Linked DNA regions of Homo sapiens: regions 1, 3, 4, 5 and 6 are each linked to region 2. Evidence: promoter capture Hi-C in 16 types of primary human blood cells and fetal thymus (Javierre and others, 2016). All regions are on one chromosome and are shown on one strand. Each heading gives the region's core, a stretch centred on a gene start or on the middle of the fragment in contact. The rest is flanking DNA. Distances are from core to core; before and after follow the strand shown. Region 1 overlaps PTPRU (protein tyrosine phosphatase receptor type U). Region 2 holds the start of MATN1-AS1 (MATN1 antisense RNA 1). Region 3 overlaps LINC01756 (long intergenic non-protein coding RNA 1756). Region 4 holds the start of TXLNA (taxilin alpha). Region 5 overlaps SPOCD1 (SPOC domain containing 1). Region 6 has its middle 330 kb from the start of LINC01648.

Evidence for each region. The method cuts DNA at HindIII sites, captures the fragments that hold promoters and counts their contacts. A CHiCAGO score of 5 or more calls a contact.
Region 1: a fragment that was not itself captured here is called in contact with the fragment with the promoter of MATN1-AS1 in region 2 in 10 of 17 cell types (megakaryocytes, endothelial precursors, erythroblasts and 7 more); the score reaches 13.1 in megakaryocytes.
Region 3: a contact is called between a fragment that was not itself captured here and the fragment with the promoter of MATN1-AS1 in region 2, in 5 of 17 cell types (M2 macrophages, erythroblasts, M0 macrophages and 2 more). The highest score is 8.0, in M2 macrophages.
Region 4: a contact is called between the fragment with the promoter of TXLNA here and the fragment with the promoter of MATN1-AS1 in region 2, in 5 of 17 cell types (monocytes, neutrophils, activated CD4 T cells and 2 more). The highest score is 8.2, in monocytes.
Region 5: a fragment that was not itself captured here is called in contact with the fragment with the promoter of MATN1-AS1 in region 2 in 1 of 17 cell types (neutrophils); the score reaches 9.0 in neutrophils.
Region 6: a contact is called between a fragment that was not itself captured here and the fragment with the promoter of MATN1-AS1 in region 2, in 2 of 17 cell types (endothelial precursors and M1 macrophages). The highest score is 11.5, in endothelial precursors.

The regions. Positions count from the first base shown.
Region 1 is chr1:29,265,723-29,269,858 of GRCh38, reverse strand. All of the region lies in intron 7 of PTPRU (protein tyrosine phosphatase receptor type U), which reads right to left. Among named protein-coding and RNA genes, the nearest start is that of PTPRU, 31 kb to the right of the region's middle. The HindIII fragment of the contact is 6,519 bases long and covers 1-4,136 here.
Region 2 is chr1:30,717,094-30,721,425 of GRCh38, reverse strand. MATN1-AS1 (MATN1 antisense RNA 1) reads right to left here and starts at 2,654. Exons shown (of 4, transcript NR_034182.1): 1 at 1,861-2,654; 2 at 1-138. It overlaps MATN1 (matrilin 1), which reads left to right. Exons shown (of 8, transcript NM_002379.3): 2 at 1-21; 3 at 2,469-2,691. RefSeq lists silencers at 2,042-2,131, 2,692-3,211, 3,252-3,431 and enhancers at 1,789-2,364, 2,462-2,631. The HindIII fragment of the contact is 4,958 bases long and covers 930-4,332 here.
Region 3 is chr1:29,326,981-29,330,950 of GRCh38, reverse strand. LINC01756 (long intergenic non-protein coding RNA 1756) reads left to right here. Exons shown (of 3, transcript NR_110758.1): 3 at 1-1,331. Among named protein-coding and RNA genes, the nearest start is that of LINC01756, 21 kb to the left of the region's middle. The HindIII fragment of the contact is 1,557 bases long and covers 1,319-2,875 here.
Region 4 is chr1:32,177,688-32,181,616 of GRCh38, reverse strand. TXLNA (taxilin alpha) reads right to left here and starts at 1,942. Exons shown (of 11, transcript NM_175852.4): 1 at 1,841-1,942; 2 at 1,103-1,303; 3 at 40-375. The coding sequence starts at 1,271. RefSeq lists enhancers at 939-988, 999-1,158, 1,279-1,358, 1,246-2,004, 2,005-2,764 and silencers at 1,559-1,738, 1,879-2,068. The HindIII fragment of the contact is 3,390 bases long and covers 1,392-3,929 here.
Region 5 is chr1:31,788,796-31,792,960 of GRCh38, reverse strand. SPOCD1 (SPOC domain containing 1) reads left to right here. Exons shown (of 16, transcript NM_144569.7): 14 at 194-283; 15 at 560-746; 16 at 1,670-2,539. The coding sequence ends at 2,358. Among named protein-coding and RNA genes, the nearest start is that of SPOCD1, 25 kb to the left of the region's middle. RefSeq lists a silencer at 3,569-3,858 and an enhancer at 4,024-4,165. The HindIII fragment of the contact is 2,297 bases long and covers 947-3,243 here.
Region 6 is chr1:29,710,452-29,714,642 of GRCh38, reverse strand. No RefSeq gene overlaps it. Among named protein-coding and RNA genes, the nearest start is that of LINC01648, 330 kb to the left of the region's middle. The HindIII fragment of the contact is 3,602 bases long and covers 1,068-4,191 here.

The DNA.
Region 1 (4,136 bases), core at 300-2,799, 1.5 Mb after region 2:
TACATCCCAATGCAAGGGTGTAAAAATGTCTACTGCAGGCATATGGGCAGAGATGTGAAGAAGTCAGAAAAATTAAAACAGCTGTTGGGCTAGGATGATGAGCTTCGGAGTGCTTATTTTAAAAAATGCCTTCGCCTGATGCTATATTATTGTTTTTACAGTAAATAATATAGTGCGAGGGGAGTTTCATGGGGATGGAGGAGATGACAACACAGCTGGCCAACAGCAAAACAACTGCCGGCCAACGCGCCTAAGCAGGGAGGGGCCATGATGTCAACAAAGAGAACCGTGTAATTCAGAAGGGCAGGGGGAGGTGTTTGCACCCTGTCTGCCAGGCCCCTGCCCCAGCTTCCGTCCTGGCCAGCCTATGAAAACTGTTTCACAGTGCCCAGCACAAAGTGGGCATTCAGCCCATGATGGTGGCAGCAGCAGCTGCTGCTGCTGCTGTTAAAAACACTGGATTAGGCTGGATGCACTGGCTCCTGTCTGTAATCCCAGCACTTTGGGAGGCTGAAACAGGAGGATCCCTTGAAGCCAGGAGTTTAAGATCAGCCTGAGCAACAGAGTGAAACCCTGTCTCTACAAAAAAAAAAAAAAAAAAAAAAAAAAAAATATATATATATATATATATATATATATGTATATAAATTAGCTGGGCATGGTGGTGCAAGCCTGTAGCCCCAGCTGCTTAGGAGGCTGAAGCAAGAGGATCACTTGAGCCCAGGAGTTCAAGGCTGCACGCAGTGAGCTATGATCGTGCCACTGCACTCCAGCCCAGGTGACAGAGTGAGACCCTGTCTCTAAAAACAAAATAAAACAAAAAACTAAAACAAAACACTGGATGAGAAATCAAGAGATTCAAATTTTGATTCAAGCTCTGCCATGGACTCACTGTGTAGATTTGTACAAGTGGCTAAATCTCTAAATCTGAGTTTATTCATCTGTAAAATGGGAATAATCAACAGCCGTCATCATGAAACCTGGGTTCTTGACCCACTGTCTGATCACAGCCAAGTCTCTTCCCCTCTCTGGGTTTCAGCTTCCCCATCTGTACACTAAGGGGAGTGCAATAGAGATCCTCTGCGGAACCCTGTGCTATGATTCCTTTTATCCTAAGTGGCAAACCAGAACTGCCTTTGAAAGATTAAAAACACCATCATTTACTGGGTGCTTACTGTGTGTTAAGCGCTATACTTCACATGCATTTAATGCATTTCCCTGCAATTGTCTGCATTTAACCCAAAACACTGGAGGCTCCAAGGTTCAGGCTTTCCAACTCCTCTTTCTTCCATCTACATTTATTCCCTAAAAATCTAAGGACTGAATCGGGGATTCTCAACCTCAGCACTATGAACATTTTAGACTAGATAATTCTTTCTTATGTGGCTGTCTGTGCATTGTAGGATGTTTAGCAGCTTCCCTGGCCTCTATCCCTTTAGATGCCAGTAACACCCCATTGCCGCCACCCAGTTGTGACAACGGTTATGTCCTCAGTCACTGTCAAATGTCTCCTAGGAGACAAAATTGCCCCTAGTTGAGAACCATTAGCGTAAAAGATCTCATCCAACCTCAGGGCTTTAAATGCCATCTATACCATCTCCACACTGATGACTTTCAAATTTCTATCTGCAGCCCGAACCCCTTCCCTGAACTCCACACTCATGTATCCATCTGCTGATGAATATCTCCACTTGAATGTCTAATAGGGATCTCGAAGTCAACATTTCCAACACAGAACTCCTGATCTATGACACCCACGTCAAATCAGCTGCCACCACAGTCCGCTCCAGGAAATGACAGCTCCATCATTCCTGCTGCTCTAGCAAAACACCTTGGAGCCATCCTTGACTTCTATTTCCCTTTCTCTCATCCCATATTCAATCCATCAGCAAATGCAGTTAGCTCTGCCTTTAAAATAAACCCAGAATCTGACCACTTCTCCCCACCACCACCACTTCCACTCGGCTCCCAGCCATCACCACCTCTTAAGCAGATCATTGCAGTAGCCTCCTCCCTGGTCTCTGCGGCACCTTTGCCCTCCTGGAGAACATTCTCCACAAAAGGGCCAGAGTGATCCTTTTAAACAAAAGTAGATGATGCTCACTCCTGCTCTCTAAACTCTTCAGTGGCTCCCCAGCTCTCTCTGTGTACAACGGCTCTAAGTCCCACATCTGCAGCTCAACTTCAGCCTCTTCTCCTGCCATCTCCCACTCAGTCACTAACACAGTGACACTGGTCTCCTGGATGCCCCTTGCACGTGCCAAGCATTCTCCAGCCTCCAGGCCTTTGTGCTGGCTGCTCAGTCGGGCTGGTGCTTGCTTCCCCCAGCAAGCCCCCAGCTCTCTGCACGGCTCAGTCCCTCACCTCCTTCAGATCTCTGCTCAAATGTCACCTTCCCTTGAGACTTTTAAAAATAACAACCCTCCAGGCCCCACTCCCTGCTTTTCTTCTTCACGGCACTTATCACCATCTGACAGGCCATAAAGTCCTCCCTCGGTATATGCCAGGGATTGGTTCTAGGACCCCTACATATAACCGAATTCACACATATTCAAGTCCCATAGTTGGCCCTTCATATATACAGGCCCTAGAAACACTGGAGTTTTTTGTATTGCTGGTTTGTTTGTCTCTAGATAAGATCTTGATCTGTCATCCAGGCTGGAGTGCAGTGTGAAATCTTAGCTCACTGCAGCCTTGATCTCCTGGGCTCCAGCAATCCTCCTGCCTCAGCCTCCTGAATAGCTGTGACTACAGGCACATGCCACCACATTCAGCTAATTATTGTTGCTGTTGTGTTGTAGAGACAGGGTTTTGCTATGTTGTCCAGGCTGGTCTCAAACTCCTTGCCTCAAGCATTCCTCCCATCTCAGCCTCCCAAAGCACTGGGATAAAAGGTATAACCCACCATGCCCAGCCCGCAAATACCGTATTTTTGATGCACGTGTGAGTGAAAAAAAAATCTATGTAAGTGGATCTGCCCAATTCAAACCTGTGATGTTCAAAGGCCAACTGTATACTTCACTTGTTTACTCATCTATTATCTATCTCCTCTTGCCAAAATGTGAGTTCCAGGAAGAACTCACATGTTGGTGGCCTTTGTCTGTCCTGGTTATAGTCATATATCCCTACCAACCACAATAGCACCTCGCACGTAATAGACACTCAATAAGCATTCGTTGAATAAATCTTCAAACTAACCCTATATGGTAAATGTTATTATTCCCATGTTGTAAAACAGGGGGACTGAAGCTCAGAAAGGTTAAGTAACCTGACCCAGACCCCTTCACTAGAAAGCAATTCCCACTGGAACATTCTGACCCACCACTCAAGGGTCTCCCAAAGTGTGACATTAAACCAGATTTTAGACCTACCATCCAAGGAGTTCCCAAAGTGTGGCTTTAAACTGGATTTTAGATAATTCACAGATTGGCTTTTTAAAACACTTACGAATATTGATTAGCAACAAATAACATTGACCTAAACCTCACACTTTACCCAAAATAGATCATAAACTTAAATGTAAAATGTAAAACTATAACACTTTTAGAAAAAAAACAGGAGGCCAGGCGCGGTGGCTCATGCCTGTAATCCCAGCACTTTGGGAGGCCGGATCACCTAAGGTCAGGAGTTCAAGACCAGCCTGACCAACCACCTCTACTAAAAATACAAAATTAGCCAGGCATGGTGGTATATGCCTGTAATCCCAGCTACTCAGGAGGCTGAAGCAGGAGAATCACTTGAGCCCAGGAGGCAGAGATTGTGGTAAGCTGAGATCATGCCATTGCACTCCAGCCTGGGCAACAAGAGTGAAACTCCGTATCAAAAAAAAAAAAAAAAAAAAAAAAAAACCCAGGAGAAAATCTTTGGGAGACAGGGATAGGCAAGGAGTTCTTAGACTTGATACCAAAACCACAATTCATAAAAGGGAAATTTTACAAATTGAACCTCATCAAAATTGAAAATAGTTCTGTGAAAGTCCATATAAAGAGGGTGAAAGGACAAGCTACTGGGAGGAAATATTTACAAACTCCACATTTAACAAAGGACTGGTACCTAGAATGTACAAAAAACTCTCAATACTTAACAACAACAACAACAACAAAAAGAATAATCCAATTAGAAAATGTTCAAAGACA
Region 2 (4,332 bases), core at 1,405-3,904:
AGGTCCCCTGACATCAGCAAGGTACGTGCACGCCACCCTGCTAGGATGCTGCTGTTTGGAGGCTCCCGCTCGGAGTTATGAGCTTTGCCTGCAGACACTTTGATTCCCATGATGCCCCGTGAGGTGGCCATTTCATAGCTGGGGAAACAGGGTCAGAGAGGGGCGGTCATTAGACAGAGGTCACCAGTTGCAAGTGACAGAGCTGGGATTTGAAGCCACCTTTACCCAACCTTTCCATCCTAGGAGCTTACAATCATTTCAGTTTAGTTGACCTTGGTTCCCGACCAGTCTGAGCCCCTTGAAGACATTGCAGACAGGCCAGATGCTTATGGGAGGAGTGAAGGTGTGGCCTCCGCCACCAGCCTGCCTGGGTTCACGCCCTGCTCCACCATACTAGCTGTGCCACCCCGAGCAAGTGACGTCATGTCACTGGTGCTCGGTTTCCTCACCTGTAAAATGGGAGTAATGATAACACCTTCTCCAAGTGCTGCTGAGGACTGAGTTCAAAAGCATAAGGCTTCCCATCATGGCATTTGATAATTTTTAATTTCATAATTCTCCGAGGGCAGGGGCTCAGAAATGGAAGGGCTGTGCTGCCACCTGTGCTGTCAGTGAGGGCTCCAGGCAGAGGGCTGAGCGTTTCCCAGGACTTGTATCCTCACTGTCATGTTCAGGGCTCAGCACAGAACCTGAGGCTAAGCCAGGTGTCCTCTGTTCCTGTGGCACCCCCACAGGCTCCAGCACTTCCCCACTGCAGCCTTCGTTAGCCCGAGTCGCCACTTCCCTGCTCAGGGCCCCAGCTCAGGGGAGGTTCTTTCTTATCCCTCCTCCATACCCCACTCTCTAGCACACAGTGGATAAATGAACATGATTCTGCTCGGAGGTGGTATCCCCATTTTACAGATGGTGAAACTGAGGCATAAGAAGCTTAAGCAACTTGCTCAGCCAATAAGTGGGAAAAGCATTCACAGAGACAACAGCATATAATCCCAGCCATTACCACCCCTTAGAGAAATGACGTATCAGGCAGCCTGTCGGTCTTGGGGCCAACTACAAGTTTCAGCACGGGGTGCTGTAGATGAAGCTGATGGTTGAGGTGGTGGAGAGGGTGAAGGAGATGGGGGTGGTGGCGTGGGGTGGGCAAGTGAGGAGAGAGCTCCTCCAGCAGGTGACACAGCGGCGCTGGGGGAGCTGGCACCAGACTCCAGGTGTTCAGCCTGGAGTTCACCTGTGGGAGGACCCAGCAAGGTGGACAATCTGAAAGCTGGGTTGCAGGGAGGGGAGTAGGGACTCGAGGAGGCAGTGGGCCTCGGGATGGCAGCGAATAGTCACAGCTAGATTTTCAGAGCCAGGAGCCCAGGCCCCTGGAGAGGAAGAGATTGTACAAAGTCACTCCCCAGGTAGCCCAGGGTAATGATGGTAAAAATAATAGTTGCCCCTTCTGGCTTCTAACCAGGAGTCATCTCACTCAACCTCACCACAACCCTTTTTACAGTTGAAGACACTGAGGCTCAGGAAGGTGACCTGTAGCTTGTGGAGCTGCATTTCTAAACACGGCCTGTCTCAACTGCCTGTCATCAGGACAGGGTGTCAGGACCTGGGGCTAAGGATGGGACCCAGGAATCAGAAACAGACCCAAGTCAGAAGCAGAGAAGCAGCAAAGCGGGACTGGATGCCTAACCCAGACTGGGCAGAGCTGGGAGCGCCCTAGCCTCAGGGCGGGTGCAGACAGGGGGTCACGAAGCCGGATCTCAGTGACAGAGTCCGCCACCTCTTTCTTTCCAGGGTACAGACCAGAGGAGCCTAGTGGGAGGGGAGCAGGCAGATTCTTTCCCTCTCTGGCAGGGGCATGTATCATACCGGGGAGTGGAGGAGGATAAGGGCGGCATCTTTCTTGGGTTGGTCCCTTGGGCATCCACATGGGAGTGGCCCTCCGTCGGTTCCCTGGTCCAGGGTCCCCGGTCTTACCGGGACAAGGACAGCAAGACGGGAGACGGCAGCCCCATCCCTTAGCTTCGGCTGCCATCTGGTGGCCAAAGCGCAGAACTGCACCATGTGGAACCACCGGATCCCCCCACCCAGCCCCGGCCGGGCCTCCCGGGGGCACGAGGGGCGTGGCACGACTCCCACAGCCATCAGCCTGAGGACCCTGCCCTCAGCCGCCTCAGTCTGAGGGGAAGGCATGGCCCTGACCTTAGAGACCCCAATTTGGCGATGGGGCATCACATCCCTCCGGGCATCTCAGAGCTGCCTGCCCGAGGGAGGCGAAGCAGATGGAAAGCCCCCCAGCCACGTCTCTCAGTCAGAGGAAACGGGTCTCCTCTTCGGCCAGCCGGGTCCTCTTCCCCCGGGTGCCGCCTGGCTGTGCGACCCGGCAGTCCTCCCGCCTCTCCGGGCCTCAGCCTCCTCTCCTGGACAGTCCCGTGGGCTTCCGGGAGCCCGGTGTCACACCGCCCCGCGTGTCGCAGGTGGTCATCGTGGTGACAGACGGGAGGCCCCAGGACAGCGTGCAGGACGTGTCTGCGCGGGCCCGGGCCAGCGGCGTCGAGCTGTTCGCCATCGGAGTGGGCAGCGTGGACAAGGCCACGCTGCGGCAGATCGCCAGCGAGCCGCAGGACGAACACGTCGATTACGTGGAGAGCTACAGCGTCATCGAGAAGCTGTCCAGGAAGTTCCAGGAGGCCTTCTGCGGTGCGCGGGCAGGCGGGGGCGGAGCCAGGGCAGGGGCGGAGAAGGGGAGAGCGGCGGGGCGGGGCCAGGGCTGGAGGCGGGACCGAGGCTGAGGCGCAGACGGAGCCAGCGCCGGCGCAGGGCAGGGGCGGGGCCGGGGGGGGGGCAGAGGCGGAGACGGGAGAGAGATAGAATGTCAGTGCCGGGGCGGGGCCGGGGAGGAGCCGGGGGCGGAGGCGGAGACGGAGAGAGTCAGCGCCGGGGCGGGGCAAGGGTGGGGCCAGGGCAGGGGCGGAGACGGAGAGAGCGGCGGGGCGGGGCCAGAGCAGGCAGGGGGCGGGGCCAGGGCAGGGGCGAAGACGGAGACAGTCAGTGCCAGGGCGGGACCGGGGCGGAGGCGGAGAGAGTCGGCTCCAGGGGCAGGGCCAGGGCTGAGCGGGACGAGGCCGTGGCAGGCGCAGAGACTGAGAGTCCGCGCTGAGGCGGGCCAAGGCTAGGGGCGGAGCCAGCGCTAAAGTGAAGACAGAAAAAGTCAGCGTCGGGGGGCGGGGCCACATCAGAGGGCGGGGCCTGGCTGGGGCGGTAGCCTATAAAACGGCGGGAACTGAGTTACACGGCAACATCAGGGCGGGGCCAGGGCTAGGGACACGGCTTAGGTGGATTGGGGGTGGAACCTGGATTAGACTGAGGTGGTGCCAGCACCAGGGGTGGGGCCGTAGCTGGGGCGGAGCCTGATAACGGAGGAGGGTCTCCAGCCCCAGGTTAAGGGAGTTGGGGAGAGGCGATGTTAAGAGTCCTTTTATGGCCGGGCGCGGTGGCTCACGCCTGTAATCCCAGCACTTTGAGAGGCCGAGGCGGGCGGATCACGAAGTCAGGAGATCGAGACCATCCTGGCCAACATGGTGAAACCGGTCTCTACTAAAAATACAAAAAATTAGCCGGGCGTTGTTGCGGGCGCCTGTAGTCCCAGCTACTCGGGAGGCTGCGCCAGGAAAACGGCGTGAACCCGGGAAGCGGAGCTTGCAGTGAGCCGAGATCGTGCCACTGCACTCCAGCCTGGGCGACAGAGCGAGACGACTCCGTCTCAAAAAAAAAACAAAACAAAAAAAAAAACCGCACACACAAAAAACAACAGAGCCCTTTTATGTGGCAGAATCCTGGCAGGGACCAAGGAGGGCCCAGAGCTCAGGAAGGAGAGCTCCCAGAAAACCTACACATGTTTCTGTGTCGTGAGTTTTGGGTGCCAGAGTTTTCTGTGATGCGGGAGAGTCTGAGAGGCCTGGGCACTGGCAGGAGAAGGTTCAGAGCCCTTCTCGGAGGGGAGGTGTGTGTGTGGGTCTTTGGGATGTGACCCGCAGGGGCAGGGTGTCCAGTAGGACAGGATCAGGGTTAGGGCAGGGACTTTACCCATTTGTAAAATGGGTCTAAGAAGAGCATGCACGTTATTGAGAGGATCCAGTGAGATAATGCAAAATGTAACCCTCATTATATGGTATTTGACAGATAGGTGCTGTGTTCATTGTATGCTGTTCTAGACACTTGGGTGTCTTGATACAGCAGTGAACTAAACAGACTAAAGGCCCTAACCCTTGGCCTTTACCTTTTTAGTGAGACTTTTCATTCTTATCATCAGCATTATAACCTTCTTCAGGGATCTAGGCA
Region 3 (3,970 bases), core at 848-3,347, 1.4 Mb after region 2:
CGGCTTTGGAGTCAGTCCCAAGTTCTAGTCCAGAGACTGAATCTTTTCTAGCTGTGACATTGAGAGCTCTGCCCTCATTTCTCTGAGCTTCAGCTTTCTTGCCTGCTAAATGGGCTTGGTGATACCCACCTCTCAGGATGCTGGGGAGATTAGGAACAGTCTGTATTAGGGACAATGCACAGCAGTCACTATTGTGATCACCAGGACCAGCCAGGGTGGGGGTGCAGGCCCATCAGACTAAAGTCAGTGTAAAGCCACCAGCCTCAGACACCCGATGCTTAGGCCAATGGCCTGGACCCCACTGAGCAATGTCAGCCCCATTGTCTGAGGGATGTTGAACCTGATGCTGTCCTACTTAGAATGAGCTCCTAGAAAGCACCTAGCTCTGCCTCCTCATGGACAAATCAGGAGACTGAGCCCCAGATGTTTGCTCAATGCCACACAGCATGGTGGTAGCTGAGCCAGCATTGGAACCCAGCCTCATGACTTCAAGCCATGTGGTCATCCAAGGACTAAAAATTATGTGCTTAAGAGTATAGGCTTTGGAGCCAGACAGACCTGAGCTCCAGTCCCAGCTCTGCAACTTTCATTCATTCAACAAATACTCGTTGAGTTCTTGTCATGTGCCAGGCACCATGCCCAGTGCAACAGACACAGGAGGACAAGACCTACATGGCCCTGGCCTCTCGCTGCTCAGTCTGGTGAGAAGAAATACCCAGTGAATGAACAAGCTCATCACCCACTGTGAGAAAGCAGCAAGGCACAGACACAGGATGGGCCCTGAAAGACACAGGGACAGTGGGTGCTGGAGGGCCACTCAGGGCATTCAGGGAGGGCATCTCAGGAAGGGGACATCTGATCTGGGAACTGGACACCAGGCAAGAGCCAGGTATGCAGGACCGGAGAAGGGTGTCCATGCAAAGAGCTCAGAATGATGGGGGAAGAAGAGCCTGGAGTGCGCAGGAGCGTGCAGGAGGGACGTGGACAGACAGGGTAGAGCCAGGACAGGTGGGCCTCAGAGGTCATGGTCAGGAGCACAGTGCTCATGCACACAGCAGCAGGAGGCACTGGAGGGTTTGAGCAGGTGAGTGATGGGATCTGGCCTGTTTTTTCAAACGATCACACTGGTTGCTGTTGTTTGTGTGACCTTGTTGGCTCTCTGACCTGGGGCAAGTTGCTTAAGCTCTCTAAGCCTCAGTCTCCTCATCTGTAAAATGGCGATGATCATAGTACCTACCTCACAGGTGGAACTGGAGACTGACATATGACAGTCTACAGAGAGCACTGAGCAATGTGCATTTCAGTGCCGAATAAAGCTTTGCTTTCTTACATCCCCACGTCCAAAGCCCTCATCCTCTACCTGCTGGCCATTCATTGCCTGACTTGAACCTGTTGATCCTGCCTATGCAATGACTCCATTATTTCTGCACTGCCCTTAGCCATGGGGATGTTGAGGCCAAAGCTCATTAAGCTCCTGTCCATCAGAGGTCACCGGGGCAGGGGGAGGTCCATGGAGCCCAGGGAGAGAGATTGGCCAGGCCCTGCTCCCAATGAGGGCCTTGCAAGTGGCCTTGGCATCCATCAATGTCACGGCTCCATCTCCTGGGTGCCTGGGATATATAATGCATCTCAATCAGGGGCTGAGAGAGGTTGTGTGAAGTAATCATTGCTTTCGCTGACTCCTACAGCCAGATTTATTATGGTATAAAGAAACAACTTAGCTTCTGGCAGTAACAGGCAGCTGGCCTAGCTGCACTTGTAGAAATCTTATTTGCTGGGGCCTGGGTGGGTGGAGGTTTCTACCCACACTTGCTCAGCCAGAGGCCCTGGACAGAACCCGGCTGGACCATTCATCTTCCTGTGCTCCTGGCCACCTTGTCTGAGAGGCCGCCACCTTGTCTGAGAGGCCGCCACCTCTGACACATTTCACAGCATTTGAAAAGCAGTGCTTAGGCCACAAATTCCCCATCTGGTATTACACCGAGGGGATCCTTAGGCTTTTGGGCCAGGGAGGCCACAGAGCAGAGCAGTTAAAGGCCCAGGTGTTGGAGTCAGCCTAAACATGGGTTCAAGTCCCTGCTCTGCCATATAGTGGCCAGGTGACCTTGGGTGAGTAAACTCACTTCCCTGAGCCTCCATGTCTTGTCTCTAAAATGGAGGGGTAGGAATCCCCCCTTTAAAGAGCTGCTGTATGGAGTAAGGAAGAGCCAAAGGGTGTAGGACACATAACACAGGAATAGGCACTAGATGAAAGGTGATCGTCACCATTTTCATTATCCAGGGGCTTCAGTATTATGGCGTGAGATGCCCTTTATTGAGGGTCAATTATGTCACCAGGGAGTATGCTGGTTCCTTTTAAATATTTTGTCCCTAGACCTCACAACCAATCCTGCAGGTAGGTCCTGTTATGTTTATTGCAGGGTTGTTAGGGGATTGTGCAAGGTCACCCGACTGTGGGTTGTGGAGCTGGGGGCGGGACTATGGGTTCTGGAGCTGGTGCTCCTCCTAATACAGAGCCCACCTCCCCAGCTTCTCTGAGAGGCCACACAAGGCCCCTGGTCAGTCGGGCAGGCAAGTCCAACCTCTCCTTCCTTCCCTCCCTCGTGCCAACATTTCCAGGGCACTAGCTCCATGACAAGCCCCTTACTGGGCAATGGACACAAGATGGCACAGAAATACTCCCTGCCCTTGAGGAGCCAGCACCGAACAGAGCAAAGGGCCGAGCCGCATCCAGACTGCTCCGCACGCGTGTGTATCAGTTAGCAAAAACTAACTGTGTATGTAACAAGTGATTTCAACAGACTGTCTTCAAAAAAAAAAACCATTTATCATCTCTCCCAGTTCTAGGGGTTGGTTGGGCAGTGTCTTCTAAGCTTAGCCATGTGGCTACACTTACCTGACAGGTCAGCTAGACTGGAAGGTTCAAGACAGCCTCACTCACAGCCTGGGAGTTGCTACTGACTGTTCATGGCACGCGCTGGTTCTCCTCTGTGTGCCCTCAAATCATCCGGTAGGTGAGACAGCTTCCCTTGTATAGCAGAGTTCCAGAAGAGCAAAAGCAAAAACTGCAAGGCCTCATGAGACCTGGGATCCAGAACTCACACGCCATCACTTCTGCCCATGCTATTGGCCAAAGCAAGTCATATTCTATCGCTTGGCCAGTACCCGTGACACACATTTGTGATGCATCGCGTAAGGCTCAGAGGTCAGCTCAGAATGAGGATGAGGGGGTCAGTCTGTGCCCTATCCAAGTGTGATCCTAACTGGCCAATTAATTTTTAACTCAGATTAAAGTATGCTGAATTGTGAGGTCATTAGAATGGGTTGTATCCTCTGACCAATGGAGAAACTGAGGCACAGAGGGTCAGCCAGTGTGCAAACAGAATGAGTACATCATAGAGTCAGCCTTCATATGAAGAAACTGAGTTCCAGAAACAGGAATTGTCTTGTCCAAGGTCAGGCAGCAAGCCTGTGACAGAGTCAGGAGTGACCCAGGTCCCTACCAGCCAGCCTGCTCCTCCTCCCTCTCTACCCCATGGAGGCGGCTGGGGCTGGGAATGGGCTGGGCTGGGGCAATGGGACGGTCATCCCCAGCAGGGCTGTGTCTCCTCTGCCCCCATCTCTGCGATGTTTGTAAAGTAAGCCCTTTCAACACGCTTGGCACTACATAAGGCACTTAATCATTACCTCATCTGATCCAAACAGGACTGTCCCCACTTTACAGATGATAAAGTAGGCCCCAGAGAGGGCACTAACTTGCCCAGGGTCTCGCAGCTGCTGGGCCCATCTGCCTGACACCAAAGCCTGAGCCTCCCATGCTGCCCCAGAAAGAGCTGAACCTGATCCAGGGCCCCCAGTGGAGTGAGAGGCAGCTCTGTGGCCCTCAGGGATCTCGAGTTGATATACCCTACCTGAGGAACTGCTTCAGAGGCCTGGATGGGGACAGCAATGGCCAGGGTCCCTTGGAACC
Region 4 (3,929 bases), core at 693-3,192, 1.5 Mb before region 2:
TCTCCTCACCAGCTTCACAAAGAGCCGCCCTCTGCTCACCCAAACCCTTGGCTTTTTTCTTCTCCTGTGGCCTTCGATGGTCTCGGTCTCCGACCTCGTCACTCTGCCGGATCTCTTCTGTGTTTGGATCCCCCTTGGAGGGTTCCTTCTCTCCATTGACTACTGGAGTTGGTTCAGGCTCCCCATTCCTTGCCACATAGGTCCGGGACTTCTCTGCATCTTCGGGTTCAGCCGGCTCACCCTGTGCCCCATCCTCGCCGGGGCCCCCCTGGTTATTGTCCACACAGTATGTGCTCAGTATGTCTTCCAGTTGGCGGCTCAGCTCCTCAGAGACATCACGAAGGGCCCCAGACTGAGCCGTTCTGGCTTGAGCCCCTACAGCAGGAGAGGATGAGGGGTAGAGTGAGAAAGAAGACGATTATACCACTGGTTGGGATTTTTCAGGCCCAGCCAAACTCATCAGTTTGAGTTAAATGTTGCCTAACTTTTTTTTTTATGGAAACTGAGAAGCAAGAATGGAGTATCATTCAGCAAATCTAGTTCCTGTCAGAATTTAGATTCGAAACATCTTTTAAATCAAGAAATTATAGTAATCGTTGCCTAACTTCTTTAAGTCTGTTTACTTGTAAAATGACACAACTATTTCTCACTACCACCCGAACATATTTGTTAGATCATAAAAGTATGTAAAGCATCAGCACACAGGGATGGCACGGAGCAACTTCTAGTCCATCTCCTTCCCCCCCACAAAACCATTTCTTGCCATTCAGATCATTCTAGAAATGCCTCAAACAGGAAGGGCAGTTAGCTGCTGGTGGCTGAGGTGTTTCTAACGGGACCTGGATTTCCTGACTGGGTGCCTCGTTTGGCTGCCACCTGACTTAATCCCGTCGGAGCTTCTCTCCAGAACTCTGTTCCTGTGCTTAGAGGGGGCAGCTCCGCCAACTCGCCAGAGCGCAGGGGGGACCGCGGCCCCCAGCACTGTCCTCTCATTCTACATCTCCTCCTCCCGGACAACCTGGCCTCGGCCTGTAAGTCCAGAAGCGAGGCCGACCCCACAGCTCCTCCCCCTGCCCGCTGGCAACGCAGAGCTGGCACACACCCTCCGGCTTCCGAGGAGCCTGGCTGCTGCCGGGACCTTCTGCTTCTACTGCAGGAGCCGCCTGGCTGGGCCGCTCCTGGGCTCCCTCGGGTCCTGCTTCCGGTTGTCCTGGGCTGCTTTTTGGATTGGATTGTTTGGCAGCCCCGTTCTTTTTGTCTTGGTTCTTCATTGTGATGAGCGATGCTGGGTCAGGAGAAGATCCTTTAGAAACAAACACAGTTGCTATTTTCCAGACTTCGAAATTCTTCGCAGCCTGGATCAGAAATCCCCACAGCAGGCGCACAAAGCTTCTTAAAATAAACGGACCGGCAGGCCCGGGCGGAGGGCGCCAACGGCTCTCTGGTCTTGGCGGGTCAGGAGAGCCCGACGTGCCGGGGCAGGCTTTCGGGGCGCAGCTCCCACAGCGGGTGAGGGAAGAGGCCTCTTCTCCCTGGAGCCACTTCCCGGCACAACCGGCCCCCTCGCGGCAGGCCGGGCGCGGGATTGGCTCAGGGCCGGAGACTGACGTGGCGGGACTCCCGGCACCGCCCCCGCCCCTCAGGCCCCACGTGCGCCCCCCGCGCGCGCAGCCACCCACGCCCCGCGCGCCCTCAAGCCGCGAGGCACGCCCGCGCATGCGCATATCCCCAGACAGCCCCCGGCCCACGCGGGGAGTTGGCGTGATTTCCCCACAGGCCGAGAACATCCCGGCCCGCACACTCTCAAATAGTCTCGCCCACCGGCCGCCGCTGCACGTACCTCACCGCCGACGTCCGATGGCTTCCCCACCTCTGGCCTCGCACCGGAAACCCCGAGTAACTGCTGCCGGCCAGCCGCCTGCTCCCGCCTCAGCCAATCAATAGCCGGCGCCGGCGCGGAGCTTGCTGGGAAGGACGAAGCGAGGGCGGCCTCGGAGGCGGGCGCCCCGGCAGGGCGGGGCAGGGAAAAGACTACGCGTCCCTCTTTACGCAGGGGCTAGCCGCAGATCCCAAGGTGCATAAGGGACTGTAGTCCTGGGAGTCCAAAAGGAGCCCGTCATTCTGCACGAGTGCCCATGTCAACCTTGTTTCTATCTCGCAGAAGCTATGCTTCAACTCCCAAAGCCTTGCGCCTGGCTGTTGTTTCCTGCAGGCCTCCATCAAACCTTCCTCCCTGGCCGTGAACAAATGTGACTCCATCCGGGAACTCCGAGGACTCGGGAAGAGGGATAGAGTCCTGGGCTGAGACTCAGGAGACCCATACTCCAGTCCCAACTTCATCACGGATTTGCTGTGTGGCTGGACGTTCTGTTCTCTCTCTGGGCCTCAATGTCCTTCTTCCAAAGGAGGCTTTTAATAACAATAGCAGTTCCTTGAACGCTTACTGTGTGCTTTCCCGCTATCTAATAGCTTGGTTCTCATAACCACTCATAGAAATAACTACTATCTGTTATCCCCATTTTACGGAAAAGGACAGTAAGAGAAAGGTTAGGTAACTTATCCAAGGTCATATCGATAGTGAGTGGTTAAAACAGGGATTCAAAACTGGTAAGTCTGAGACCAGCACCCAGGTAATTACCTGGTCTTTCACCCAGAAGAAACACTACCACAGCAGGTTTCCCTGAGGCAGTCAAGGTAACTTGTGAAAGTAGGTCATATTTTCCCCTCTCCATTACCATTTTGGCAGTCAGTTCCTCAGAAAGGTGCTGAGTTAGGCTTCAGGCATATTCATGAGCCTTTTCTCTACCCCACACTCTACAAAGTCTCACTGGGGTTAAAGTAGAAAAAACCCCCACAGTTCCCTACACATGAGATCACAATTCTGTATCCCCATTGCTTCTGGATAATGAAATCAAACCCAACAATCCTTGTGCCTGGAATTTGAAGCCTAAGAGATTTGACTTTTGCCAAACCCAAAATTTTTTGAGGCCCAGTTCAAAGGTCACTTCAGAGCCTTCCCAGTGCTCTGCAAACCGTACTTGCTCCCTAGGTCTGCAGAGTTGTTACAGCATTAGCAGTGAGGTGTTGAAATTACTATTTACTTATAAGTCAGTTAATTTTGCAAGAACTGTTGGCTAAATAGTCTAGTCCCAGAGCCTCGCATCAGGCTGTGGGTAGAGAAGATTGTAAACTGTTGTGCTAATTGAGCGTTGGTTTAGGGCTGTTAGGATGTTAAATATTTCCCCCAAAGGCTCAGTGAAAGACTTCAGAGCCGTGCATGTTGGATTTCAGATTTTCAGATTGGGGAAGCTCAACCGGTAAAATTTGAGAAAATCCCAAATTGGAAACACTTCTGGTCCCAAGCATGTTGGATAAGAGATATTCAATTTTTAGTATAATGATGGAACTGAGGCTCAGAAAGGTTGGAATCTAGATGTCCTGAAACCAAGGCCCTGATTATTTCTAGAAAAGCATTCTGGAAATCTCTTGAGAAGGCACCATATAAATCAGGCCTTGATAGATTTCCATATAACAAGGGTGTTCTAGGTGAGATAAAGAACATAAAAATGTATGCATGGGGTGAGGGATAGAGGATGTAGTAGAAGGGTCAACAATAGCCTAGAGGGGCCAGTTGGGTAATGAGAACAGGCAAGAATAATTGACAGAAACATAGGTTAACAAGTTACTTTCTCCTTTGCTATAAACAATATATAGCAACAATATTAGCACCTGCCAGAGTGAGGGAGAGGTGGTGATTGCAGTAAAATACAGCAGCTCTTGCACATTGTTAGCAAGCAGAAACTCAGGCCGGGTAGGGCCAGATTGTATTTTTGTTTTTTAGACAGGTTTTACTCAGCTGCTGGGGCTGGAGTGCAGTGATCATAATAGCTCACTGCAGACTCGACCACCTGGACTCAAGTGATCCCCTT
Region 5 (4,165 bases), core at 846-3,345, 1.1 Mb before region 2:
AAGTTGTAGATTAGCCAGTACAGGCTGCAGACCTCCATGGGGCAATTAGAGCTTTCTGGGCAGCCACTGAGGGTCCTGGAACACTGCCTGCCCATATTTGCCACAGGCTGCAGCCTTCCAGGTGGCTGGGAATGCGTCCACCCTGAGTGGGTGGGAAGCTGGGGAGCTGACTGGCCATCCTTCCTGCCCCTAGGCTCTGCCCACCGTGATCCGCTCGGCAGGCTGCATCCCCTCCAACATTGTCTGGGACCTTCTGGCCAGCATCTGCCCAGCCAAGGCCAAGGTACCTGCCCACTCTTGGGCACCCCCTCTTTTCCTAGTACCTTACTCCCACCTCCCTCTCCACTTCTAGAGCAGAGGCCTGGCTTGGATATCTGGGTCTAGTTCCCAGAGTGACTGCAGACTCACTGTGTGACCCTGGACAGGTCCCTCTGTTTCCTCCTCTGGAAGATGGAGACATACTTTCTCACGGGGTTCTCAGGGGTTTCAGGGAGCCCAGGGGTGTTGGCAGGAGCAGAGGATGACTGCGCTTACAGCTGCTCTCCTCCTGCCACCGCAGGACGTCTGCGTGGTCAGACTGTGCCCACATGGGGCCCGGGACACCCAGAACTGCCGCCTGCTCTACTCATACCTCAATGATAGGCAGCGCCACGGGCTGGCCTCTGTGGAGCACATGGGGATGGTCCTGCTGCCCCTGCCTGCCTTCCAGCCCCTGCCCACCAGGCTGCGCCCTTTGGGGGGCCCAGGTGAGTGCCTAGTCCCCATACCAGACCCTGCCTCTGCTCACTTGGTGACCAGACCAGGCACGGTTGACACAGTCACCCAGTAGAGGCAGGCACATCTCAGAAGGGAACTCCTCACCCAGCCAGGCAAATGTGAGTACAATGACAGTAATAGCTCACGCTTGGATATCATGAACTGCATGCCAGCCATTGTTCTAAAAGCTTTACCTAGATGAATTCTTGTAGTCTCATCACCCTATGAGAATGGTACTATTAGACTAGACTGTCCATCTCATAGAAGAAGAATCTGAGGGAGGAAGAAGGCAAATGACTTGTCCAAAGTCACACAGTCAGTCAACAGCAGAACTGGGCTTCACTCTGTTCACACGTTGTGTGAAGCACAACATGGCTTCAGAAACCTGGCCCCTAACCACCACACCACACTGCCTCTCAAGGTAGGCACCCCTGAAGAGAAACTCCAGGGACAGCCACATTTGACCCAGGCAGCAGGACAGAGTCAGGACCTACACACACTTGACTGTAAATGTCACCTCAGAGAGGAGGGAGGGATGTTTCGCCACAGCCACGGGGGGCCGAGCTCGGCCTCTGTGCATGGACACCCTCCACGGCGTGGCTCAGGAAAGCAGCGAGGTTGGCAGTGGGCGCTTTGCCCACTCCTGAGCAAAGCGCTTGGCCTTTTGGGGCTCCATGTCCTGAGACAATGAGGTAGACTTTGAGTCTGTAGAGTCTTCAGGTCAAACAATCCATACCCCAGCCTCAGCCAGATAAGCCTTGATCCCGCAGAGCTCAAATCTTCCGAGACAGCCCCACCTTCCTACTTACTTTTCCCAGCATCTCATGGGCCCCATCTCACTGTGAAGAAGCCCTTCCTGGGATGTAGGCTCCAGATCTGCTGCAGCTAAGCTGAACACAGTTCTTCCCCGCAGGCCTTTGGGCTCTTCCTGTCTCCCCTCTCCTTTCCCCAGGTCTGGAGGTCACTCACTCAAGTCTGTTGCTGGCTGTGCTGCTCCCCAAGGAAGGGCTTCCAGACACAGCAGGGTCCAGCCCCTGGTTGGGGAAGGTTCAAAAGATGGTCTCCTTCAACAGTAAGGTGGAGAAGAGATACTATCAGCCAGATGACAGGAGGCCGAATGTGCCCCTGAAGGGCACCCCTCCCCCAGGAGGTGCCTGGCAGCAGAGCCAGGGCAGGGGCAGTATAGCTCCAAGGGGAATCTCTGCTTGGCAGAGGCCCCCCAGAGGCAGGGGGAGGCTCTGGCCAGAGCCTGAAAACTGGCAGCATCCTGGGCGAGGGCAGTGGCCCCCAGAGCCAGGCTTGCGCCAGTCCCAGCATCCCTATTCAGTAGCACCAGCTGGTCATGGCTTTGGCCGTGGCCAGCACTTCCACAGGGACTCCTGTCCCCACCAAGCCCTGCTCCGGCACCTCGAATCCCTGGCGACCATGAGTCACCAGCTCCAAGCCTTACTGTGCCCCCAGACCAAGAGCTCCATCCCCCGCCCTCTGCAGCGTTTGTCTAGCGCCCTTGCAGCTCCAGAGCCCCCTGGCCCAGCCCGTGACTCCTCTTTGGGGCCTACAGATGAAGCTGGCTCTGAGTGTCCCTTCCCTAGAAAGGCCTGACCCTCCTTACCCACCAGAACAGGGGTTTTGATGCCCTCACTAGTGTTGAAGCCTGTTCCAGAGAGAGGTGGGACTGCAAGGAGAGGATGGTCAGCCCTACCCACCTGCCCTGTTTGAACTTCCTGTTTGACAATGTTTGCTGTTGATTTTTTGTTCAATAAAGAATTTGGTAAAATTGGGATTGCATCTGCTAGCTGGTCAGGAGAGCCCCTGGTCCTGGTCAGATGTGGGTTGAGTGGGTGTGTCAGTGAGTGTCTTGTGCACAAATGTGCAGCCTTGCTCATTGCTGGTCTGAGGTCCTGAACCATCACTGCGCCCCAGGGCACAGCTATTGCCACGGTGGTTTCTGGAAGCATTTTGCAAGTATTCTGAACCAGGAGGAAGAGGTGGTGGTGGGAAAGAAAGTAGGACCGAGGTTGGGGGTGGAGAGAGAAATGGACAGAGCCTTTTGGAGGGTCACAGACATCAGACATCAAGAGATTGCTAGAGAGGAAAAGATAAGCAAGTTGCAGTGGACTTTAAATTTTTCAGTTAATACTAAGATTTTTTTTTCCTTTGACTAGATGGGGAAGGATAGTACATACCTTCACCATATTCCCTCCGAGTCTCTGTCTATGTGCTTCTCAGGGATCTCTGTGCACTAGTGTGCCTGCAAGCATGTGAGAGTATCTGTGTGAGTTTCATGGCCTGCCTGTGTGTAGGTCTCTGTTGAGGAAGTCAGGAGATCCAGATTGGGTGACTCCTCTCTGTATCTCTTGCCAGATTCCAGAGACTGGTGTTAGAAAATGTCAAAGGTCTTAGCCTTGGTGGTGGGCATTCAGGGTGGGGTTGGAGACTGGTATTAGGGTTGGACGGTGCTGCCTTGCCTTGGGCCTAGAACAAGCTTCTAACAGCAACTGCAACTGTCAAGCGTTTCATGTGGGGTGTACCTCGAGAGAGCTGCATCTGCGGACTGATGGGGGAACCAGCTGCCAGGGCCAACCAACCCAGCGTGGGGAAAGGGGCCTGGCTTCCAGGAGAGAACCTCTCTAGAACCCCACCCTTCGCCCCGGGGCCAGAAGGGCCCTACCCGCTCTTTGCTCACCCCTTCGCAAAGTCCACCCATGTACAGGCCTCACCCTGGCCCCTGCTGGACTGGAAGGGGTGGGGCGATGGTCGGTTGGGGGAGCCCTTCTTCTCTGCCCCATGAGCTCTGCGGCTGCCCTACCCGCGGACGACAGCAGAGGGGGCCCTCGGCCTTGGGATGGAGGTCGGGGCTGGCAGGACCGGAGTCAAAGCGGGGGGTGGGGCGAGGTGCGGGAACTTAGCGCAAGGAGTTGGAAGCGGGGGCGGGGTAGGATGCGGGTGGGGTGCGGGTGAGGGGTAGGGAGAGGGGGCTGGACAGTTGAACCGGGAGAGGGAGCGGGGCTCCTTCGGGAACTTTTCCGGCTCGAAATGGCCTGGGAGCGCCGCAGCCTCCGCGCTCTATGCAAATGACGCAAATTACTATGCAAACCTACAGCTTGGTTCTGAGCCCACAGTTTGGGTGGTTTTCCTAATGCAGTTGGTATGGAGGGAAACGGGTGTGCACTCCCTCCCCTCCAGGTCCAGGGCTTCCTCCGGAGAGCCGCCAGAGCCGCTCTCCTGGAACACGCAGGCAAGAGCGAGCTCTGTACCCTGGGCAGGGATTTCCTTTGGGAGCTTCAGTTTTCCCTTCTGTAAATGGGGGTGATAACGCGGCTCTGTAACAGCTCGCCCGTGGAAGGGCTGTAGGTGGGCCCCGAAATCCTGCAGCCTGCTAAACATGACACCCTCCCCCACCCCCGCC
Region 6 (4,191 bases), core at 1,619-4,118, 1.0 Mb after region 2:
TAGTGTGGCTCAGCTCAATCTGAAGGCCTCAGAACCAGGGAAGCCAATGGACTCTCAGTCCAAGGCCAAAGGCCTGAAAGCCTCTCAGGGAGTTGCTGGTGTGGAGTTCAAAGATCGGAGAACTTGCAGCTCTGATGTCCAAGGATAGGAGAAGGGTAGAAGAAGCAAGACTTTGCCCTTCCCCTGCCTGTTTGCTGCATCAAGACCCTCAGCTGAATGAATGGTGCCTGTCCACATTGAGGGCGGGCCTTCCCCACTCAGTCCACTGACTCATACACCAATCACCTCACAGACACACCTGGAGCAGCCCAATCATTTCAATCAAATGCCAAACCACCTGGGTTTCCCTTAGAGCACAAGACAGATGGGCTCAGCACCCCCGAATTCCACCCAAAGCAGAAGTCCTTTCCCAGGGTTCTGGTGCAAAGCAACCCTCCAGGGGTGGGCATTTGGGAATAATTAATGCTTATATGTAAAATGGGTAACCGTCTGGGTATCCCTTAACCCAGTCAAGCTGACATCCCAAATCAACCATCACACATATTCACAGCAGCATTACTCACAATAGCCAGAAGGTGGAAGCAACTCAAGTGTCTGCCCATAGATGGATGAATGGATAAACAAAATTTGGCATGTACACACAATGGAATATTATTCAACCTAAAATAGGAAAGAAATTCTGACACAAACTACAAGATGAATGAAACTTGAGGACATTATAAGCAAAATAAGACAGCCACAAAAAGACAGATAGTATATGATTCCACTTCCATGAGGTACCTAGATGGAGTCAAATTCATAGAAACAGAGAGAAGAATGGTGGTTGCCAAGGTCTTGGGGGAGCAGAGAATGGGGAGTTAGTGTTTAATGGGTACAGAGTTTCAGTTTGGGAAGATGAAAAATTCTGGAGATGGTGGTGGTGATGGCTGTATAACAACATGAGTGTTCTTAATACTACTGAACTGTACATTTAAAAAAGGTTAAGATGGTATATTTCATTACATGTATTTTACTATAATTAATAATTTTTACTAATATATATGACAAAAGATGTATGTCCTAAAGCTTCTAGAACCACAAGACTATGATGGAGACACAACATTGAACAATCCAGAACTCTCAGACTAGCCAGGTCTCCTAGATTTTAACTCTCATCCTTTACTTGGAGAGGGAAACTAAAGCTCAGAGAGGCTGTGTGAGCTCCCTGAGGTTGCACAGCAGGTTAGGAGGAAAGTCAGACTCACACCTTGCCCCTTGCTCGTTCTCTCGATTCTGCACCTAGTTCCCCAGACACTGTCTCAAGTGGCTTCCAGAAAACATTTACCAGGACCCACATTTACATCAACACTCATGACTCCTGCACCAAGACCCAGAGGGCTCCAGGGCAGTCATTCTGGCTTGGTATTTGAGGACCCCTTCCCATGGTGCTCTGCATACTCCCAGGACCCTTCACTACCCCTGGACCCTGAAAACCTGGGCACCTCCTCTCCCCTTCATTTCCTATCAAGACCTCGTTTTATATCCCAGGCCTTCCTCCCCATCTGCCATATGCGACGCTTCCTTCGGCACATCCTCTGCATCCCACAGCTGCCTGCCACACTCTGGCGGAGAGGCAAGGCTGTGGGCTCACACGGGGGTTGAGGGCCCCCGTGATCACCCTCAGCCAGTGACAGCACACTGCAAGTGGACACCCAGGAGCAGCCTCAGCCACCAGGCCCTAGGAGGAGGGTGACACCTTTCAAGGAATCATGACTCTTTAGTGGCCACTGCCTTCCCATTCACCCACCCCTCCTTCTTAGCACAGATTACAGCCTCCACCTTGATGACTGTGATCTGATGAGGCTCTTCCTCTCTCCCCAAAATGTTGGAAAGGATGATGATCTGTGGGTCAGAGTCCTTGGTTCTACTGTTTACAGGCTATGAGACCCCAGGCAATCAAGTCCCCTCTCCAAGCCTCGGTTTCCTCATCTGTAAAATGGTGACACAAGTAATGAATCCTAGTGTGTATAACATTGGAATAGAATTATCAAGCAAAGTCCCAGACTCTTAGAAAGGGCTCAATAAGTGTTCACAATAAAGGTTTCTTCTCTCCTTCTTTCATTTCAGTGAACTAGGAAGAGCGTAAGTTTTGACATCAGGAAGTGCTGGGCATGAATCTTTGATCCACGACTTAGCGGCTATATGAACTTGGACAAGTTGCTTAACTTCTCTGAACTTGTTTCCTCTTTTGTTAAAACAAACAAAAACGGGTTCTCCTCTCATTGAGTTGTTTCATTGAATATTAAATGAGTTACAGCAAGCCAAGAGCCAGCAAGCCAGCACAGTGCCCAGTACATAGTAGGTGCTCAACACATGCCACCTAATCCCTCCCACCAGGTCCCCCTCCCTGCATCCTCTGCACAGACAAGCTGGGTCAATACCACATAAAACACCACATTGACCCCACTTGGCCTTTCTCTTCTGTTCCTGCCCCGCTGGCCACGCTGAATAGATTTCACGGCAGAAATGACTGTTTTTGCAGAAACTGATTGTGATGAAGCCTGAACACAATGATTCAGAGACCACAGGAAGTCGCTGCCAACACAGGCACTTACAGGAACAATGTCTATGGGGGAGCCTCCTGGAATCTTGGGGCAGGGAAGAACCTTCTCTGTCTTTAGGTCCCATGCCATGAAGTCCTGAGTGGGCTTCTGAAGCAGTGACCCTCTCAAGGGTCATCTCATGCTTAGCTCCCTGCAAGAACAGGGGAGGTAAAGAATATGGCTGGGGTCTCAGACAGACCCAGACTCCAGACCCAGCCCCTCCACCTACTTCCTGAGAGGACTTGGGTAAATCTTTTACCTTCTGGGGCACAACGTCCTTGCATTTCATAGCACTATGAATGACAGCCACGTCTGGGTTGTGGTGAGAACCAGATGGCTCAGCTCATAGAACATGCTCAGGGCCTGGCACCCATAGGTGTTAATAAACGGTAACAATTACTATTGAGATTTAAGTCCAGCATTCCTCCATTACTAGCTGTGTGGCCATGGGTCATCCCTCATATGTTCTGAGACTCTGCTTTACAATCTCAAAAAAGGGATGAACAGGCCGGGCGCGGTGGCTCACACCTGTAATCCCAGCACTTTGGGAGGCCGAGGCGGGTGGATCATGAGGTCAGGAGATCGAGACCATCCTGGCTAACAAGGTGAAACCCCGTCTCTACTAAAAATACAAAAAATTAGCCGGGCGCGGTGGCGGGCGCCTGTAGTCCCAGCTACTCGGGAGGCTGAGGCAGGAGAATGGCGTGAACCCGGGAAGCGGAGCTTGCAGTGAGCCGAGATTGCGCCACTGCACTCCAGCCTGGCGGACAGAGCGAGACTCCGTCTCAAAAAAAAAAAAAAAAAAAAAAAAAGGGATGAACATTCTTACCCCACAAGGCAATGGGACCTAAACCGCCTTGTACAGGGCTTGGCACATAGTAAGTGCTCACCATATGAGCAGTCCCTCTTCCTCCTTTCTCCCCTCTTCCTCCTGAGGCAGCCTATTATACCTGCTGGACATCTTTGAATTACAGAGAGTTCTAGAATTTATCCTTATTGGTCCTTAGCCTATGAAGTAGAAAAGAAACCAGCCAACTAGAATTGAGTCACAGATACCTAGGTGAGATGGTGTTTCCAGAGGGAAGAAGTGATCTCTGGGGTCAAATGCCGCTGAGAAGCCAAAGGCCACAAGGACAGAGACATGTCCACAAGGAGGAGGCATAGGAAGGGTATTTGTAACCTTGACAAGACAGAAATCAGACTGTAGTAGGCAAGAAATGATGGCAGTGGGGAGGAAGAAGATGGAGCCAGCTTCTGCAGGTAACTGGTTCAAGTGGAAGGGGGCACAGAAATCCACTTAGTTGGCTTCATAGAGTCAATGTAGTATGGGCAAGAAGAGAGAGGCTGGAGTTCCAAGTGCTAGCAGAAGGCAAGGCCTCTGCAGGGGCAGAAAAGTGTGTTCCAGGGTGTCTGGGGAGGGTGGTGGAGAAGGTAGGCCTGACTCGATGCGCTGACTGCACCTGTAGAGGCTTCCCCACCCCCAGACTTTCCCTCCCCATTCCATCGTGTTCCTTCTTTTCTTCCAAAAACCAGCTCAAAAGTTTCCTCCTTGAGCATGTTCTTCCTGAGCCACCTCCCTTCAGCCTTGCCTGGCAGCCCGGTGAGGACA